Regions from separate parts of the Homo sapiens genome. Here all the other regions are linked to region 1. The links are contacts of gene promoters, found by promoter capture Hi-C in human tissues and cell types (Jung and others, 2019). All regions are on one chromosome and are shown on one strand. Each heading gives the region's core, a stretch centred on a gene start or on the middle of the fragment in contact. The rest is flanking DNA. Distances are from core to core; before and after follow the strand shown. Region 1 holds the start of CLSTN2 (calsyntenin 2). Region 2 overlaps NMNAT3 (nicotinamide nucleotide adenylyltransferase 3). Region 3 holds the start of LOC124909440 (a long non-coding RNA gene).

The links. The method cuts DNA at HindIII sites, captures the fragments that hold promoters and counts their contacts. A contact is called where the count stands out against the background at its distance.
Region 2: a contact is called between a fragment that was not itself captured here and the fragment with the promoter of CLSTN2 in region 1, in 2 of the 25 tissues and cell types used here (H1 embryonic stem cells and heart left ventricle).
Region 3: a contact is called between a fragment that was not itself captured here and the fragment with the promoter of CLSTN2 in region 1, in 1 of the 25 tissues and cell types used here (dorsolateral prefrontal cortex).

What each region holds. Positions count from the first base shown.
Region 1 is chr3:139,932,339-139,937,010 of GRCh38, forward strand. It overlaps CLSTN2 (calsyntenin 2), which reads left to right and starts at 2,847. Exons shown (of 17, transcript NM_022131.3): 1 at 2,847-3,145. The coding sequence starts at 3,037. RefSeq lists silencers at 2,845-2,894, 2,935-2,994. The HindIII fragment of the contact is 4,702 bases long and covers 736-4,672 here.
Region 2 is chr3:139,598,288-139,602,959 of GRCh38, forward strand. All of the region lies in intron 4 of NMNAT3 (nicotinamide nucleotide adenylyltransferase 3), which reads right to left. Among named protein-coding and RNA genes, the nearest start is that of RBP1, 61 kb to the left of the region's middle. The HindIII fragment of the contact is 3,592 bases long and covers 278-3,869 here.
Region 3 is chr3:140,223,834-140,228,505 of GRCh38, forward strand. The region is part of intron 2 of CLSTN2 (calsyntenin 2); the gene reads left to right. LOC124909440 (a long non-coding RNA gene) reads left to right here and starts at 1,770. Exons shown (of 2, transcript XR_007096118.1): 1 at 1,770-1,807. The HindIII fragment of the contact is 3,889 bases long and covers 700-4,588 here.

The DNA of each region.
Region 1 (4,672 bases), core at 1,597-4,096:
ATGATGTGGACTTAAAAGCTCTTATGTCTGAGTATTTCTAAGGCTGAACTTACTTACTTTTATCTCCTCTAAGGCAGGTCATTGTTGCCTGTTCCCCAAATGAATCAAATCAAATGTGTGACTGGCACACTTGTTTTCAGAGATATAGGAAGTAGGATAAGGGGAAGACATTTTTACATTTATTGAACATTGACTATGTGCAACATACTGTTTAACATATTTTTAAAATTTACTTCTTGTAATGATCTTATGAAGTAGGCATAATGCTGCTCAATCAATTGCTCCAGAACATAATGAATTAATGCAAAAACCACTTATTGTATCTCATAAGTCAGCTGGATAGTTCTGATGTGAGCCAGGCTTGGCTGATCTTGGTTGAGCTTACCTGGGCTTGCTCATGTGTCTGTGGTTAGCCAGCCTGTAGGCCAGTTGGTTCTGACCAGCCTAGTGTGACCTTGGCTGTCTGAAACAGCTCAGTTCTACTCCATGCAGTCTCCTACCCTTCTGCAGGTTAGCTTAGGCTTGTTCTCATGTCAGCAGCAGGGATTCAAGGCAGGAAGAAGCAACATGCATGCCACTGTCCCACTGACCAAAGCAAATCATATGGCCTAGCTCAGAGTTGGGGTGGGAGGGCACATCCAAAGGAAACAGATTCAGAGAAGCATGGACAAATGGCCATTAGTGCACTTGATCTACCACAATAGGCATTGTTATTACCCTCATTGGTAGAGGAGGAGATGGAGGCTAGCAATTTTGTGCCTGTTGGTAACTGGCCCACCCCCTAGTGTTTTTCTTTGCTGTGTTCTTTCCTGGCTATCTCTCCATGGAGATGCTTCCTAATAAGCTACATTTCCCCCTGTTTCTCATTATTTGGTCTGAATTTGAAACTTCACATAAAATTATTAGGACCAATCAGTGATCTTAACAAAGCCCAGTATAATGACATCAAAGAACAGTGCAGGTAAGTCAGTAAGATAGGTCTACTTATTAGAGAAAATGAAGGGAGGAGGGCAGATATGTAGTTGGGTGGAGCATAAATGGAAGAAAATGAGACAAATTTACATTTCTCTTCTATTTTCTGGCTTTTTTATTTTCCCTGGGTCAGCTACCACCTTTCCATGCCATCTTTTCTAGATTCTGAAACCAACATCTGACAAAGGCAAGGTCCTGGTGTCGGCCTGGGACATTTACTAGATTTTTGACCCTGAACAAGGAAGTTACCTAACTTCCCTGAGCCTCTATTTCATCATGTGTGAAATGAGAATAATAGCGCACATGTTGATTTGTGGGCTAAAGGAGACCTGAAGGTAAAGAGCCCCACATGGGTCTGAGCCCCATGCAGCCACCATGATTCACTGCTGTCCCCAAGCACATCCTGGTGCCTGAAATCCTGAAGAGTTGGCTTTCACCACTGCAGAGGCTCTGAGTGAGCTGCCAGGGCAGCAGAGGGAGGCTGAGCTGCAGGAGTGCTGTTAATGGATTTTATGGCTTTGTTGAGTACCTCAAACTACAGTTATTAATTAGAGGATGCTGTTTAGGCACTCTTGCAATATATACATTTTGTTAATTGATTTGTATAGGCTCATAGCTAGCAACATAAAGAATGTGCAGGACCATAACACTTACAAGGGATTGTAATTGCCTTTGCTGCCCTCTCTGGCTCCCCAAGCAGGGAACAAAAGCTTTGAGGATAGGACCCACTCTCTCCTCTGTCTTTGGATCTCCAACGACTAATCCAGTGCTCACTGTCAGGGTGATACAGCCTGTCTAGATGCTCAGCAAACGTCTTGAATCAATGACTAAATAAATAATATTGTTTGTTTCTGTATTTCCATATCTACTTTATTTCCAAACTATTCCTCATAAACCCTGCATTGTGTGTGATGTTGGCATTTCATTTAGGTAAATATGGTCAAGGATTTATTCTGAGTCCTTACTGTTTTTTTTTTTTTTTTTTTTGAGTACCTTTGTAATTTTTTCACGGCCTAGAGATGGTTGAGGATGCAAAGATATGCACTGGCTCCTGCACTCAGGGAACTGACAATACTCAACGGCACGAGATTTTACAATGCATGACGTCAAGTAGCCTGTTCTTAGAGATGCGGAGTGACAACATAAAGGTGGCAACTTCTTGCATGGCACCATACCGCAGGGAATTTTAAGTTTGACACCCCGCCCCCGCCACTGCAGCCTCAGCAGGCCCAGCACCCCAAGTTTTCTGATCTAGCTGTTCTATCAGCCTCTAAGAGCCGCGGCTGCCCCTGCTTCTCGGAGATGACGCGGAGCCCTGCCATTGCCATCCAGGTCCAAGGCTATCTACTCTGCCCGACAACCCCTAGCACCACTAGGCGCTGCTCTAGTGTGCGCCTGGCGCCCTCCCCAGACCAGTCGACGCAGAACGCCCAGAGACCCAGCCAAGGGCAAGACCCTTAGCGACGCCCGTCAGTCCTCTCCGCCCAGATATCAGTTCAAAGGGCATGGCAGGTCAGGGTCCCTCGCGCCACCCCAGATGACCCTCAGGCCTCGGGTGGCCACTTTCTGGGGGAGCCCTCCATCCCTTGCGGCAGCTTTTCCGAGAGTCGGAGTGGAGGCGCGGGGCTGGAGGGCTCTCCGGAGCCGCCCACCAGGGTCCTCTGGGGGCCCGGTCCCGACTGGGCAGGGGGACCTGGACAGGGCCCCGGAGCGTGGAGACGGCTGAGGAAAGTTGGGGGTCGGGGCCTTGGGGCGGGGAGCGCGGAACCCGGCGCCGATGCCCGCGTTCATGAATATGCACGAGCCACCTCCCTCCCTCCGTGACGTCACGGGCCGTCCCGGGGTGAGCGCCTGAGCCGCTCCGGGTCCGCGCCAGTGAGCGCGGCTGCTGCCGGCGAGCTAGCGGCGCAGCGGCGGGAACCCGAGGCCGAGCGCCGCGGCGGCAGCGCTAGAAGCGCACCCATCGGGCACGGCGAGGCGGCCCACGGTGCGGCAGGCACCGGGAGGCGAGAGCCGGCGCGGACAGTAGGCGGCGGCTGCAGCTCGTTGGCGGCTGCTGCGAGGATGCTGCCTGGGCGGCTGTGCTGGGTGCCGCTCCTGCTGGCGCTGGGCGTGGGGAGCGGCAGCGGCGGTGGCGGGGACAGCCGGCAGCGCCGCCTCCTCGCGGCTAAAGGTGGGTGCTGGGGAAGTTTGCTCTTCTCCCAGGAGGGAGGCAGGGCAGGCTTGAGGGTGAAAGCGGCAAGGACCTAGGCTCAAGCTGGATTTGCCCACCCTCCCTTGCCGCAGCTTCTTTGGCCTCTGTGCGCCCTGGATTCCCGAAGTCAGTTCCCTGCGCAGCGGACCAGAGAGGTCCACCCGCGGACGTCAACTCAACCCCTGGGCGGGGTCCGGGGGCTGAGCAGAAGGCGAGGTCTGGGGAGTACGGACAACTTTGAGGGCTGTCTGTGCCGGGGTGGGAGCGCAGTGGGTGAGTTTCGAGCTCTGGCCCAGGGACGGCTAGAGCAGGGCGCTGGCGCGCCGTGGGGACAAGCAGGTGTCTGCTCCTGCCTGGGGGAAGGATCAGCGGCGGTGCTTTCAAGGAGGGAGCCGAGCTGTGACTTGTCTCCCAGCTCGGGGATGGAGTGGAAACTTGTAGGCTCCAGGGAAGGCCCCGCTGACACTCCTCAAGCTCCCCCAGGGCGTCTCTGACTCCCCGGGGAACGTGTACCCTCCGGGTAGGCGGCGGGGTCCGGAAGAAGCGCGGGATGTGAGGCTCCCCGCTGCCTTTCCTACTCCGCTCTGACTACCGAGGACCGAGGAGCCTAACCTGGCACCACTCCCCTGCCCACCCTGTTCCTTTGAAGAGCTTGACCTCCCCGCGCCTCCCGCCCGGAAGGAAGCTAGATCCAAGCGAACGCCTGGCTCTGTCAGGCGAGCCTGGAAGCCGGCGAACCCCGGACTTTGACAGCTGCCTGGGAGCGTCGGGAGCTCTGGGGTGGGGGGCCGGGTCTGAAACAGGAGGTCACGTGCTTGCAGGGGGTGGGGAGGCGAGGGAAGAGCAGAGCTGGTGGGGAACAGTGGTGGGCTCAGGGGAGGCTGTGGCAGATCCTAGCTGGGGCGCACAGCTTAGTGATAACTTGTTGATTCTCTGCGCTGTTCATAAGTAGGGCTTGCGTTTGGTTTGTGGACTGTGGCCAAATCCGCCAGGTGACAATGAGGGGTACTTGGTCCCCAAATCCTGCCTGGCAATCATCAGAGGGCGGAGGGGTTTGCGCCTGTCAGAAAATAGATTCCCTGTTAGAGACAGCCTGATTCGGACGCTTGCTTTGAGCTACACTTGACCACTAGCTTAGGGGAGGAAATGCCTATCAGGCTGCATTACTCTTGGAGGTTGGGGAGAGCTGGAGGCAGGCAGTTCGCCTTGTCTGGGCTTTAGAAACTGGCCCTCCAATAACTTAGGAGTGATATATTTGAGAAGAACATGGGAGATTATGTTTATCTGTAATTTTTAAATTTTTTGGTGTCATCGTTTTGAAAATATTTTATAAGCAGGCATTCTGTTTCTTTTCAGCATTTTTTTTCTTGGTGTATCTTTGACAGGCAGTTTCTATTTTTAGAAATGAGAAATTTCATGAGAGAAAAACTCGTTATGAAAATATCTCAGAGTGCGGTAAAGAAGTGGCTGATATGAAGGGATCAAGCTGAGAGACTGTTGTTTTGG
Region 2 (4,672 bases), core at 824-3,323, 330 kb before region 1:
TAGGGGGCTGGGGTAGGTATTTGTGACTGCTTTACTCAATGGCAGAAGTGATACTTTGTGACTTCTGAGGTTAGGTCATAAAAATGCCATGCACTTACATCTTATGGTCTTGGGGCACTTGGTTTTAGAACCCAGCTGCCATGAATGGGTTCTAAAAAACGCCCAAACTAGCCTACTCAGAAAGACCCCACAGTGTGGCCACATGCATGTGCTGTAGTCAATGTCCAACACCCAGCACCAACTGCCAGACACATGAATGAAGAGTCCCTGGATGACTGCAGGGACTCCACTCGGTCACAGTCTTCAAGACTTCTCAGCTGAGTCCCCAGGTATCATGGAGCAGGGACAAGCCACCCAGTTGTGCTCTGGTGAAATTCCTGACCCACTGAATCTATGAGCATAACAGAATGGTCAATTTACACCAGTAAGTTTGGGGTGGTTTGTTATATACTGATAACTGGAACAGGAATGGAGATTCAAAAAGTTTATGTGATTTTTCCCATGGTTATACTACCTGAAAATGGTAGGCTTGAGATTCAAACCCAGGTTTGCCCATATTTTTTTTTCTACTGCACTGTACTGATGATGGACAGTGAATTTTGGAGAGGTAGTAGCTAAGCCAGGCAGGGCTAAGAAGGGTACCACTAAGTAGCTCCACCTCCATCTATGTGTAGCCCCAAACCAGGTCACTCTAAGGTGTGATGGAAAAACTGCCCCTTCTAGAGCTGACCATCCCCCTCAGCAAGACTGGGCCTCAATAAAATGTTATTGCTGCTTAAAATGCTAGCAGCCTCACAAACCGTGAAGCAAAGACTTAATAGCATTCCAAACTGTAAAGACTTCATTATTTCCACAGAGAATGGCTTGGCACACTTATCAGCATTTTATTAAAAATTACCATACATATTTAAAACAAAACTACATGTGTCAAAACAATTGAGAAAAGCATTAGGTAATGCTCAGACGTGGCTGCTCTGTAGCACAGAATGATTACTAATTTGCCTCTTCCCTTTTGCAGACTTCAGTTCTGGGGCTTTTGCTGGGAGAAGCTTGGTGTTTCTGTGGGCACAAGCACAGTCTGGCCCCTACCACCTCATGCACACTTTTGCCCATTTTCTTCTTCCCTTGGTTGTGTTGGCTGAAGTGCACCCTGGGAAACAAAGGCCTTGAAAGACAAAAATCTAAGAGATCAGGAGCAACTGTCACAAGTGGTGTTAAGAATCAAGTAACAAAGAAGCTTGGGGTAATGTAGCATGTTAAGAAAAAACATAAAAAAGACCAGAATCTCAACTAAATGGTTATGCATGCCTTTACAAACAGACTGTTGTGATTAAACCTCGCCTCTAAGTGAAGCTTGGAAAATATGATCTGGCTGTGGCTACTGAGACTTTGAGGCCATTTTAGCACCATTGTCTTTATTTTCCTTATCAGTCTTCAAGCTTATTTAATGTTTTGCATCTTTTTTTGTTTCTCCAGAGAGCTCTTCAACTGTGTGATCCAAATGAATTTGAGAACACCTATTTACTGCTCCGCCCTGTGTCCTGCTGGCCAGAAGTGCCCATCAATTTCAAAGGCCTCTGTGTGACTGGATTGAGGAAGCCAAGAGCAGGGAGAAGAATAGATCCAGGTCTTCCCATTACTCCAAAATGGAGCCTAGCCCTCTGGCAGCACAGTCGGCCAGCTGGGACCACGGTGGCCATTACTGGAAGTGTGATCATCTGCCCTCTCTCCTCAGTGCCCTTGGAATATGTGCTCTTCTGTCTGGCTTCAATTTCTCTTACTTCTTTGTGTGTGAAGAGTCTTCCTTTCAATCAGCAAACTCTTCCTGCACACTATAAAGCCCACTTTGGTCTTCAGAATCTTTCAGTGCCTGAGCTTGTCAGTATGAGGTTTCTCTTTCTTTATTTCCAAATGTCCTGCTTTCTTTGTGTGCAACTTCTTAAGAATTTGGCAAAGTAAACAACAAAGCAGCAATATTTCATAGGGTTTAAACTTCCCTTTGGTCCTGGATAGAAAGGATTTTTTTTTTTTTTTTGAGACGGAGTTTTGCTCTTGTAGCACTGGCTAGAGTGCAATGGCGCAATCTTGGCTCACTGCAACCTCTGCCTCCTGGGTTCAAGGGATTCTCCTGCCTCAGCCTTCCGAGTAGCTGGGATTACAGGCACCCACCACCACGCTGGCTATTTTTTTTGTATTTCTCAGGAGAGACAGCATTTCACCATGTTGGTCAGGCTGGTCTCGAACTCCTGACCTCAGGTGATCCACCCACCTTGGCTTCCCAAAGTGCTGGGATTATAGGCCTGCCACCTGGATCTATTCTTCTCCCTGCTCCTGGCTTTTTCAATCCAGTCACAAAGAGGCCTTTGAAATTGATGCCTGCCACCACACCTGGCAGAAAGGATGTTTTTGTTTCTTCTTTTTCCTGTTCCTTTCTCTGCAATCATCTCTCTGAGTCTCAGACATGTGGCACTGGTTGGCTGGCAGCACCTTCTGTGTGTCTGAGCCCTTACATAGCTTCCAGAGGAAGGGGTGCTCCGTTGGGGTCCTGCCTGCTTTTGGAGCATTAGAATCTCCTTTTTTGCAAGCCTCTGTCTCCCATCATTTAACACCCAGCTGTGTCTCTCTGCCCACTGACCAGAATCTTTTCGCAGTAGGTGGGTTTTAAAAAGCACTCACCAGAACTCCCAAATGCTAGGGTCTCATGGCCCCTCAAAAACTCATTACCTTCTCTTTGGGATCCTCAGACCTGGCAGGAACCTCACATAGGAAGAAAGGCAGCCAGGGAGCAGGCAGTGAGGACAGGTTGTAATCAGGCAGTTCTGGCTGGGCATAAAGTCTGCTCCTGCTGAAGGCAAGCTGCTCAACACTGCACTGGACATCCTCCATGTGTGGAATCTAGGCAAAGCAGCTCTGTCCTCTATTAACAAATAACTGAGCCTGGGCAATCTGTTACTTCAACTGTCCTTTCAAGCCAGGCTTTGCAGTAACAGGAATTTGAGGTCCAGCATGCAGAGACAGACCTAAGTGTGAGCCTCTGCTACTTATGAGCTGTGTGACCTGGGGCAAATTACTTAACCTCTCTATACCCTATTCCCTTCACTTGTGCAATAAGAATAAATAATACCACACACTTCGGAGGCATGGCGTAAGACTCAAATGACTAATATAGGGATAGTTCAGGGGCAGATACACGGTTGGAAAGCACACTAGAAATATCAGTAGAATCTGAATTTTCCCCTACCTGCCTCCTTGTTTTCACTACAAATAACATTTCCTTTCCTGCTTTTAAGTCAAGAGGGGAACACACTGATTCTTTAGCAGACAGTTTAGCACACACTTCAAGCCAGAGAGTGTACCAGCAATGTGGATTCAGAAATAAATATGATGGGAGCCCTGCTCTCACAGGATGGGGTTGGGGGTGGGGGATAAAGTCCCAAGGGAGTTGGACAGTCTCCAGATGGGTAGTCACTGCTGGGCAGAAACACATGAGGGAAGTGTCAGGAGCCCGAAAGAAGCTCTGAACAGGTTGGAACACGTTTTCTGGAGGATGGGACATTGAAACTGAATCACCTACAATGTTGAAGGCAGATGGTAACCTAAGAAAGGTAAAGCCTTGTTAATCAAATCAATTCTTTTCACTTTAACTGTATTGGAAAGATACTTTAAAAAATCTTCATAACAACTGAAGCTCGATGATGCCTTGATTCTGCATTAACATCCTTGCCCATTTCTTGATACATTTTCAATTTACCTTCATGGTAATTTACACTCAAGGAAGCTGTCCAAGATATGCGGGGGATTCAATAAAATAGGTCATGGAGTTAAATGCTGTGGTGAAACACAGGGCTTAATTTTATGGATAAAATTTAAACTGCTTAGCTGCCTTTTTTGCATTATTCATGTTAAGACTAATGATTACTCACTAAATGGGAAGGAATCACTGTAGAAATCAGGAAGCCATTTTCTTAATTCTTTAAGCACATCTGATGGAGCTGTGGACTCTGCCCTTGAGGTTAACAGCATTGTATTAGGGAAGAGACCTGCTTGGCCCACCAGTCAACCTCCCTTGCCTGGGCTGCTCCTGAAACTGCTACAGGAACAGGAAACTTGAAACAAGATTTTTTCCTAAAATTGACATTGGGTAGAATGAACAGGATAGAAGACAATATATTAATGTCAGTTCCTTCTGGTATTTTTCAAAGTGAAGTCTGCATTGATGTCATTGACAAAAATGCAAATTCCAGATTGTAACCAAATCTGCTTACTGGCAGTGAGGTTTAGGCACTTTAATTATTCACAAGCATCCCAGGCAATTCTTATGTGCTAGTGGAGAACCACAGATTGGCATTGGCTATAGAGAGACCACTTCCTTTCAGTCATCCAAGGTTATTTTATTAACTTAGCACTGGGCTCCAACGTAAACAAGGGCTACTTTTCTATAATGATCAAATTACTAATTTTATAAGTATAGAATAAAAGGATATGGGTTTCTTAGATTGTAAATGTTTGATGTAGTTAATGCAATTTCATTTTTGAGGTTTGTTTCTAATAATACTCTTAATTTACATGTCTAATGGATTCCTTGTACACAATTCTGATCATGTAAATTTAAGATGATCTTTTCCACTTTGCAATACAAGACATTTAAAATAACCTAAAGTTGCCCATTCTC
Region 3 (4,672 bases), core at 1,394-3,893, 290 kb after region 1:
GACTTTTTCAAGATGACTCACATGTAACTTAATGAGGATCAAGTCAAATATTTCAGGTGACTCGTGTTCTTGGTGATGCTGCAGTTCCCACAGGAGTGTGTGCCGTCCTCTGTAGTGAAGAAGGTTCTAGACATGTGTTTTCTCTCCAGAGAACTCTGGAAGGCTGCATCCAGAGGTGAATTAGCCCTGGGAAATGGGATATTTTGGTGAGGCCACTTAGGCTAATACCCTTACAGTATAGTGAGTGGTCCCCGGGTATGTTTTGAATTCATATATTTATTTATCCATTACTTCCTAGAAGCAATAAAGTGGAACAGTTACCAGCATTGGCTTTGCAGTCATATCCATCTAGATTCAAGCCCCAGCCTGGCCCCCTCCTATTTGTGTGACCAATGGCGAATCATTTAACCATTGTAATCCTCCACTTTCTCATCTACAGAAGACAGTAACGATAGAACTCAGTTCTTGGGATCATTTTGAAAGTCAAACAAGATAATGACAGAAAAAGTTTACAGTAATTTCTGGAACTCAATAAATATTCTGGTTATTATTTTTTAGTCATTTAGCTAGTGTTTATTGAGTAGTTAATATGAGCAGGGACTGTCCTAGACAGTGAAGACACATCAGGGAACATAATGAGGAGCCCTGCCAGCATGGAGTTTATATTATGTGTTCATGTGCGTGCAGGCTTTATAGACATGAAGCAAGCAGATCAAAGTCCTCAAAGTGTGACCCACAGAACTTTAGTCTGGTTGAAGCATCACAAAAAGTCAGGTTCCTTGGTCAAATAGGTTATAAAAATTTTATTATAATCATATAATCAGTCATAACCATGGAGTCTTACATAATAATATAGACCTTCTGTGCCCAGTCCTGTGTCAGAGGATCTGAGCAGCCCTCCATAAAGACACTTATTTAGCATTGATTAATCCACCATTCCCCAAACTTATGTAACCAAAAAACTCTTGTTTGCTAATTCCTATTAGACTCCCATTGACCTATGTTCTGAGAAACACATGAAGGAAAATACTAAGCTAGAGATTAGAGAGACTAGTGAAAAAGCAAGTCCACAATATAAGAAGAAATACCAGGTGGTCTGTGCCTAAGCCAAGCAACCCAAGGAAGGGCAGCCATAGAAAAGGGCTTTCCCTGCTCCACCAGCAAGTGCGCCAGCCAGCCCTCCAACATGTCTATGCTGGGCCCATCCAGGTTGCACTATGTGTGAATTCAGTAACAACTCACAATGGAGCATCAGTTCCAGCCATCTGGGTCAGCAGCCTCCCAGCTCGGAGCATAGGCTCACACCAATCACAGAGCTATCTGGGCAGACTCTCCACCCTTCCCCCACCTGCTGCTTTATGGGAAGGGCCCTGCTATCCCTGTAAAGAAGGACTCCTGTCCTTCTGGTTGGTCTGCCTTTCCAGGTGATGGTGAGAGAGACACCAGCCACCTTTCCTGGGCACACATCCCATTATCTGGCTCCTGGAGTGTGATTACATTACTTCAGTTGCACTGTTTCCATCTGACTTGAGCTACACGAATTGTTTCTCTTGCTTGTTTAATTGCCCATGTCTTATTACAGAGACAATTTATTGTTTTAGTGCAGCATAAAGTTCAAATATTTTATGCAAGATGAATACGGGCACTGACATTTTTGTTTGTTTGTTTGTTTGTTTGTTTTGAGATGGAGTTTTGCTCTTGTCGCCCAGGCTGGAGTACAGTGGCGCGATATCGGCTCACTGCAACCTCCGCCTCCCGGGTTCAAGTGATTCTTCTGCCTCAGCCTCCAGAGTAGCTGGGACTACAGGTGTGTGCTGCCATGCCCAGCTAATTTTTATATTCTTAGTAGAGATGGGGTTTCACCATGTTGGCAAGGATGTACTCAATCTCCTGACCTCATCATCTACCACCTCGGCCTCCCAAAGTGCTGGGATTACAGGCATGAGCCACTGCACCCGGCCTTGACACTGACATTTTCATGCCCTTCTCAAACTCACACAAATGAAAATCACACTGGAAACTTTTCAAACTGTTTTTGGCCAATAATGACCAAGTGTCAAAATCTCCATAAGTTGATTTTTTTTAAAAAAAAAAGGACTCTAAAAGAATATGTTTTCTTCTATAATATTGCTGGGGATTTTATTGGGTGATACCAACACAAGCTTATGAATAGCTTTCCTAGGGTGTGAAAATGCCTTGGAAAACACCTTGGGAATTAACTGTTGATATATACAACCACCTGGGTGAATCCCTAGAGAATTACACTGAGAGAAAAAAGCCAATCCCAAAAGCCTACATACATGCTGCATGATTCCATTTATATAACATTCTTAAAATAACCACAGAAATGGAGAACATTTAGTGGTGCCAGAGATTAAAGACAGGGTGGGGATGGGAGGGAAGTAGATGTGGCTATAGAAGGGTAACATGAGAGGTCCTGGTGGTGATGAACTGTTCTGCATCTTGACTGTATCAATGTCAATGTCCTGGTTGTGATATTGTGCTATAGCTTTGCAAGATGTTATCACTGGGAAAAGCTGAGTAAAAGACACATAGGATTTCTCTGTATTATTTTATACAACTGTGTTTAAATCTATAATTACATTCAAAATAAAAAGCTTAATTTGAAAATGTTGGAAAATAAGGTGGATCGACAGCTAGATAGATGGATAGATATGGGATAAAGTGGTATATGGGTATTCATTATAGAATTCTTTTAATTTTTCTCCATATTTGAAATTTTTTATAATAAAATGTTGGAAAAAAGATGTTAGAAATGTGAATAATTGCCTAAGAGAGACTAGATAATGGAACAGGACCTAAACTATGCAGTGCTGGTGTATTAGTCCATTTTCATGCTGCTGATAAAGACATACCCAAGGCTGAGCAACTTACAAAAGAAAGACAGGACTTACAGTTCCATGTGGCTGGGGAAGCCCCCCAATCAAGGCAGAAGTCAACGAGGAGCAAGTCGTGTCTTATATGGATGGCAGCAAAGGGAGAGTTTGTGCAAAAAAAAACTCCCATTTTTAAAACCATCAGATTTTGTGAGACTCTTTCACTATCATGAGAACAGTGCAGGAAAGACCCGCCCCCATAATTCAATCACCTCCCACCAGGTCCCTCTCATGATACTTGGGAATTCAAGATGAGATTTGGGTGGGGACACAACCAAACCATATTATTCTACTCCTGGTCCCTCCCAAATCTCATGTCCTCACATTTCAAAACCAATCATGCCTTCCCAACAGTCCCCCAAATTCTTAACTCATTTCAGCGTTAACTCAAAAGTCCACAGTCCAAAGTCTCATTCAAGGCAAGGCAAGACCCTTCCACCTATGAACCTGTAAAATCAAAAGCAAGTTAGTTACTTCCTAGATACAATGGGAGTACTGGCATTGGGTAAATACAGCCAATCCAAATGGGAGAAATTGGCCAAAACAAAGGGGCTACAGGCTCCATGCAAGTCTGCAATCCAGCAGGGCAGTCAAATCTTAAAACTCTGAAATGAACTCCTTGGACTCCATGTCTCACATCCAGGTCAAGCTGATGCAAGAAGTTGGTTTCTATGGTCTTGAAAAGCTACATTACTGTGGCTTCACAGGGTACAGCTTCCCTCCCGGCTGTCCTCATGGGCTGGCATTGAGTGTTGGTGGCTTTTCCAGGTGCACAGTGCAAGCTCTCAGTGGATCTACCATTGTGGGGTTGGGAGGATAGTGGCCGTCTTCTCACAGCTCCACTAGGGAGTGCCCCAGGAGGGACTCTGTATGGGGGCTTAGAACCCACATTTCTCTTCTGCATTGCCCTAGCAAAGGTTCTCAACAAGGACCCCAACCCTGTGCAAACTTCTGTCTGGGCATCCAGGTGTTTCCATGCATCTTCTAAAGTCTAGGTTGAGGTTACCAAACCCTCATTCTTGACTTCTGTGCACTTGCAGGCTCAACACCACCTGGAAGCTGCCAAGGCTTGGGGCTTCCACCCTCTGAAGTAACAGGCTGAGCTGTACCTTGGCCCCTTTTAGTCACAGCTGGAGTGGCTGGGACACAGGACACCAAGTCCCTAGACTGTGCACAGCATAGGTACCCTGGGCCTGGCCCACAAAACCATGTTTTCCTCCTAAACCTCCAGGCTGGTGATGGGAGGGGCTGCCACAAATGTCTCTGACATGCCCTGGAGACATTTCCCCCCTTGTCTTGGGGATTAACATTTGTCTCCTCGTTACTTATGCAAATTTCTGCAGCTGGCTTGAATTTCTCCTCAAAAAATGGGATGTTCTTCTCTATCTCATTGTCAGGCTGCAAATTTTCTGAACTTTTAGGCTTTCCTTCCTTTATAAAACTGAATGCCTTTAACAGCACCCAAGTCACATCTTGAATGCTTTGCTGCTTAGAAATTTCTTCTGCCAGATACCCTAAATCATCTCTCTCCAGTTCAAGTTCCACAAGTCTCTAGGGCAGGGGCAAAATGACACCAGTCTCTTTGCTAAAACATAACAAGAGTCACCTTTGCTCTAGTTCCCTAAAAGCTCCTCATCTCCATCTGAGACCACCTCAGCCTGGACTTTATATTCCATATCACTATTAACATTTTGGGCAAAGCCATCAACAAGTCTCTAGGAAGTTCCAAACTTTCCCACATTTTCCTGTCTTCTTCTGAGCCCTGAAAACTGTTT